Regions from separate parts of the Homo sapiens genome. Here region 1 is linked to region 2. Evidence: promoter capture Hi-C in human tissues and cell types (Jung and others, 2019). All regions are on one chromosome and are shown on one strand. Each heading gives the region's core, a stretch centred on a gene start or on the middle of the fragment in contact. The rest is flanking DNA. Distances are from core to core; before and after follow the strand shown. Region 1 has its middle 130 kb from the start of SNORD137. Region 2 holds the start of ZDHHC21 (zDHHC palmitoyltransferase 21).

Region 1 (2,898 bases), core at 47-2,546, 1.6 Mb after region 2:
ATCTTTAAGAACAAGTGGCTTATTTTTAGCCTAAAGAACATACAGTTTCCTCATCTTTTACTGTTTAATCCTAGGGTTAAGAAAGAAAATGTACATTTGTTTTTGTTGTTTTTGTTTGTGAGACAGGGTCTCACATTCTCACTCAGGCTGAAGTGCAGTGGTGTGATCTTGGCTCACTGCAACCTGCACCTCCCATGCAATTCTCACACCTCAGCCTCCCGAGTAGCTAGCTAGGACTACAGGTGCAAGCCACCACACCAGGCTAACTTTTGCTTTTTTTTTTTTTTTTTTTTTTTGGTAGAGACAGGGTTTCACATTTGCCCAGGCTGGTCTCGAACTCCTCCTGGGCTCAAGCAATCCACCCGCCTTTGCCTCCCAAAGTACTGTGAGAAAAGTTTCACATTTAAACTTTACATTTGTAATAGTTGTCAACCACATTTATTTGTAAGTGTCTGCTTATTATTGCTTCTATTCAATGGTGTTGATCAAAAGAGTCAAACTCTGTAAAATATTTGAGATTTATTCTGAGCCAAATATGAGTGACCATGGCTCATGACACAGCCCTCAGGAGATCCTGAGAACATGTGCCCAAGGTGGTCAGGGTACAGTTTGGCTTTATATATTTTAGGGAGACATGAGATATAAATCAATACATGTAAGATGTATGTTGGTTTGGTCTGGAAATGGGGGACAAGTGGAAGCTGGAGCTTCCAAGTCATAGGCAAATTCAAAGATTTTGTGATTGGCCACTGGTTGAAAGAGTTATTAACAGAAAGGCATGTTTGGCTTATGATAAGGGGTTGTGTAGGCCAGGGTTTTCTCATAAAGATGAAGTTTCTAGGTAGCAGGCTTCAGAGAGAATAGATTGTAAATGTTTCTTGTCAGACCTAATCTGTTCTATCAGTAATTCCAAAAGGGAGGAGGGTATAATAAGGCATGTCTGGCTACCCCTTCTTATCATGGCCTGAACTCATTATTCAGGTTAACTTTGGAATGCCCTTGGCTGAGAGGAGGAGTCCATTCAGATGGTTGGGGGGCCTTAGAATTTCTATTTTTGGTGTACAGTAGTTAATTTTTTCTAAAGCTTTTCCTTTCTGTACATTACAGTTATTCATATAGCAAAGTTATCAATGTTTTATCCTTCACTTTGCCTGTCTTGCTCTTGCATTTAATGTAAATCATAGCTGATAAATGTCATATAAGGAAGGAACTCTAGATTTCTCTGAAATGTAGTGTGAAGGGCATGGGCCTTCAGAGCTCAGGGCCCTGAGTTCGTAACCTGGCTGGGCTCCTGATTAGCAGGCAACTGACTTCTCTGAGCCTCTGCCTGCTTTGTTGGTAAAATGGAAATAATAACATTTTTCCTCACAGCACTCTTAGTATCAAATGAGATGAGGTGGTTGCATATGATAGCACCTGATAAATGCTAGAAATATTGTTACCACTGCGAAAGTCAGTGTAACTTCAGAGCTGTGGTGATACATATAGTGGAATTGTGGGGGGCCATCTGAAAGAGTGTTCTAACACTACTATGAATTTGTATCCCGACTTTCAAAATAAACTTGTAAAGTGCCTTCCTACTTTCTTATTCTAGAGATTTCCTCATAATTTCTGCCAGAAAGGGAAGCTAAAAACAAAAAGGATTCTAGGAGAATTGAGAGCTGCAAGGTCTCATTGATTGGTGAAGTGAATGTGCCACTCCTTAACATTTTAAATAAGAGATGTTTTGGATGGGAGATATTTAAACCTAGTGAGAGGTTTTATCAATCAAAACCCCAGCACTTGTATAATAAGCCAAGTATCTAGTTTTCAAGATAATGGGAAATTGCAAAATATCCATCACTCATATAATCCCTCCTCTCCAGTCATCTGTGTTAATTAGGATAAGTAGATTCCACTTTAATGCCCTTTTTATGTACAGTCCCTCTTCAAAAGGAGGGAAAAAGAAGAACTTAGCTTGGTAGACTAAACAGTATTCTAGAAGGAAGTTGGTGAGATCATACTGCTGGCAAAATGCTTGTTTTCATTCATATTCGTTATTATTTCTCAAATGGTTGATAATAAATTGGAGAAATGTAAGGTGGAAATTGTATATACCTCTAATGGTTAAGTTTTCACATTATTTTAAACAGTCAAGTAAAGGAAGTTTGCTTCTAAAGAGGACTTCTGCCAAGGGATGATCCCATTTGACCATAAAATAAGCTTCATGGTCTACAAAGACCTGGCTCTGAAAGCTCATGCTGTTGAAGGTTTGTGTTAGGGTTGGGAAAATAGAGCTTCTATTTGGGATTCTGTAGCATGCTTTTCTATGGGTGTCATGCAAGAGTGATGCCTCTCTGAACTGGACAGCAGACAATTAGTACACGTAAGCCCAATTTTTAGGTTTGCACATTGGATGAGTTAAGTTGCTAAACCAGTCTCAATCTCCTTGCTAGTAAAATGTTTTATGAATATTTATTTTAAAAATCATACATTTCAAATATTGGAAGACAGTGAAGGGCCAAGAATCACTTTGAAACATTAAGGAATTGAGATCCAAAAGAATATATGTGCGGAGCCACCTGTGTGGAAGTTATCATTTGCTATGCTAAGATATATGTGTCCATGTCAAAATTGTGATGGGAAGTTCTGAGGTGTGAAAATCATTGGTAACTTTTTCTTTGTGAACCATGGACCATATTTTTTTGATGTGATGTACTTCCCATGATACTTAGGAGGCTTATCTATGTTTCAACTTTCAAATGAAAAAGAAAAGTTACTAGAAAAAGTTAATAGAACTTTATGTATAGGAATTCTGAATACTAGACAGATTAGAAACTCTGGTTGCTAAAAAAATTTTGAAAGGGAAAAATAGGATTGGAGTCCCCAATTCGATATTTTGTTTCTTTATTCTCTATT
Region 2 (2,880 bases), core at 381-2,880:
CACATTTCCTCTTCCTTCAAAGTGATTGTTTATATGAAATATCTCCTTCTTTTCAAACAGAGAAAGTTACAAAAATCCTACTACATCAAATGATTTATGAAAAATAAAGGTAATTCTATCAAAAGCAATCGTGACTAGTCTTTCAACCTCGCTATGCATATATCGGGGAGTGTATTTGTTAACCTGAAAGGCAATAAAATCTGCTTATGGGTAAATCAATTCCTACCACTGGGTTCTTTTGGGAATATCTAGTAATCTAGGTCAGTAATTCTAAAACTTGAGTGTGTATTAGGATCACCTAAAAGGCTTGTTACATCACGGATTGCTGGGCTACACCTAAACAGTTTCTACTACAGTAGATCTGGGATGGGGCAAAAGAATATGGATTTCTCACAAGTTGACAGGTGATACCGATGCTGCTGGTCTAGGGATCCCACTTTGATAACCACTGACCAAAGTTTTTAAGGTCACAAGGTGTTTATAATTAGTTCAGAAACCAGGACACAACATGTTTAAAAATCCTTAGCAATACAAGGTAATATGAGGCCCCAAACAGGCAACAATGTGCACTATATAAGGGCAGTGGTGAGAGAACTCTGGTTTGGCAAGATTTCCACTCTCAAATCTGGATAGGGTTAAGATCATCAGAGAGCAGGGCATTCTAGAATGGGGAAATGAACCAAATTAGTTGGAGCTAAGACTGGAGAGGTAGGTAGGGATGTGTCTGTGGAGGGCTTTTAAGCACATCTTATAAGGAATACAGATTTTATACAACAGGTAATATTTCTTCCACCAACACACTGTCTCCTCCTGTGGCACGTGGGCAGAAAGATCTAGCTCCACATTACTGCAAACGGTTTAACCTTCCCCAAATACTGTTCAGCCGGAGTGAGGTGGGAAAGTTAGTAGATCTCTGGTGTTTGGTGAAGATACCAAGTTAGACTGAGAGGTGGATTACTTGCATCGCTGAGTCCAAAAGTTGTCGGCTTTTGCAGGGATGGGAAAGCAGGAAACTTTTGGAGGTCTCCCAAAATATAAGAAAAGATTGTTTGGGTGTGGATTTAGGTTGAGGACAGGAACAGGAAATATCCTGGGATGTCTGAGGCAACCCAATAGAGGGTCTGAAGTGGACGAGACCATGCACTACAGTGCAATGCTTTTCCATCTTTACGGTGCACCCCAGGAGTCACCTGGTGATCTTGCTGAAGTGCATGTACTGATTCAGCAGGCCTGAAATTGTGCATTTCAAAGATTGTGAGTTCCCAGAGGATGCTGATGCTGCAGACCGCGCTTTGAAGCAAGGTACCATGGGACATCCCAGAACACCTGCGGGGAGAGAGGCCTGCTGGCCACATCCCCCGAAGAAAGGATACATGCAATCTTTTAAGCTAAGGCCCCCATCCTGTCTCTCGGGAGAGGTGAGCAGTGAGGATATGGGGACAATGAGAAGGACGGCTCAAGTAGGGCTGGGGAGGGGCAGAGGCGCCCAGGCGCGCCAGGTGCAAGCGCTCTGGAGAGTGCGGTCTGCCTGGGTCCGCGGCTCTGGGGCTGCGGCGCGATTGCAGGAGTTTCGGCCCTCAGCGGCTCCCATCGCGGCTCCCGGGAGCTAAGCGAGACGGCGACGGCGGCAGTCGTCCCTCCCCACGCGGGCGCGCGGGCATGCGGACACCCACTCGGCCGGTCCAGGCCCTCAGGCTCCCGGAAGCGGAAGGGGAGAGCGGCCCGGCCTGGGCGGCGGCGCCGGAGGAGGCGGAGGTGGCGCGGCAGGAGGAGGGGAAAGAGCTGCTGGCGGTCGGGAGAGCGGCGGCAGCGAGAGGCGAGCCAGCGGCGACGGTGAGTGTGCAGGCGCGGGGGCGAAGCGGCCGCCCCCACCCCCATCCCCATCCGCACCCCCACCCCCATCCCCGGCCCCCGCTCCGCTCTGCCGGGCCCGCCCGCCGCTCCTCCGCGCCGGGACGCCCTCACCTGTTCCTGCACGCCCCCTGCACCTGCTCTGTTTGGAACCCGGGGGTTTCTCGGTGCCTCCCCGCCCCAGGCCTGGCCTTTTTCAGAGCGTCTTCTGCTAGAGCTACAGCCCCTTGCTAAGTGCTCCTCCCTCAACTGGGGGTGGGGGGTTCCTGCTCTAGTCGAGACGATGTTGGCTAGTTATTTATTTATTTATTTTAAATCTGTATCCTGAGTTTCTCGCTTGTAAACTACAGTTTCTCTCCCCGCACCCCCGTCTGGAGACCTGCACTGGGATCCCGGGTTTCTCTGTGCTATTCCAGAGCTTTTCATTCATTCCAGACTTCTGGTGTGAAGCTGCAGAGAGGACAAACAGTTTGCTCCTTTATTGACCTTCTCACTCCTCTCCTCTTGATCCAAAGAGGTTTTCGGAAAATGGCTTATGGATGGCAGCAGTTTGCACTTGTTACTGTTCACTGTAACAGGTCGCTGGATTGTAACTGCAGAGTCCATTTAAGTTACGGTCTTTTTCAAGCTATATGTGGGTCACATTTTAAGATCCCTTGAGAGTCAGGGTGGATGTCTGTATCACCAGGGCTGAGAGGACATGACCAATTATTACTTTAAAATATTGCAATATAGCAGTCTCTAAAAGTAGAAGAGAAAAAAAAATCAAGGTCATTGTGGGCGGGTCATAAATTATATTGTAAAGTTACAGTCCAAAGGCGACTAAGGATAATTAAGTGCAATTTAAAAAGATGTGTTAAATAGGTCCTCAGCCTACTATGCTAATATATGCACTTTTAAAAATTCACTGCTTTCCTTGTGGTAAGAATAATATTAATAACAGTCACCATTTGATGACTGCTTAGTATGCGCCATTCCTGGATTAAAAGGCTTTTGGTGTAATATTAAATTCTTCCAACTCTTTAGATT

What was found. The method cuts DNA at HindIII sites, captures the fragments that hold promoters and counts their contacts. A contact is called where the count stands out against the background at its distance.
Region 1: a fragment that was not itself captured here is called in contact with the fragment with the promoter of ZDHHC21 in region 2 in 1 of the 25 tissues and cell types used here (dorsolateral prefrontal cortex).

The regions. Positions count from the first base shown.
Region 1 is chr9:13,097,369-13,100,266 of GRCh38, reverse strand. No RefSeq gene overlaps it. Among named protein-coding and RNA genes, the nearest start is that of SNORD137, 130 kb to the right of the region's middle. The HindIII fragment of the contact is 3,261 bases long and covers 1-2,898 here.
Region 2 is chr9:14,692,182-14,695,061 of GRCh38, reverse strand. It overlaps ZDHHC21 (zDHHC palmitoyltransferase 21), which reads left to right and starts at 1,630. Exons shown (of 10, transcript NM_178566.6): 1 at 1,630-1,833. RefSeq lists an enhancer at 1,125-1,625 and silencers at 1,699-1,768, 1,849-1,988. The HindIII fragment of the contact is 8,706 bases long and covers 1-2,880 here.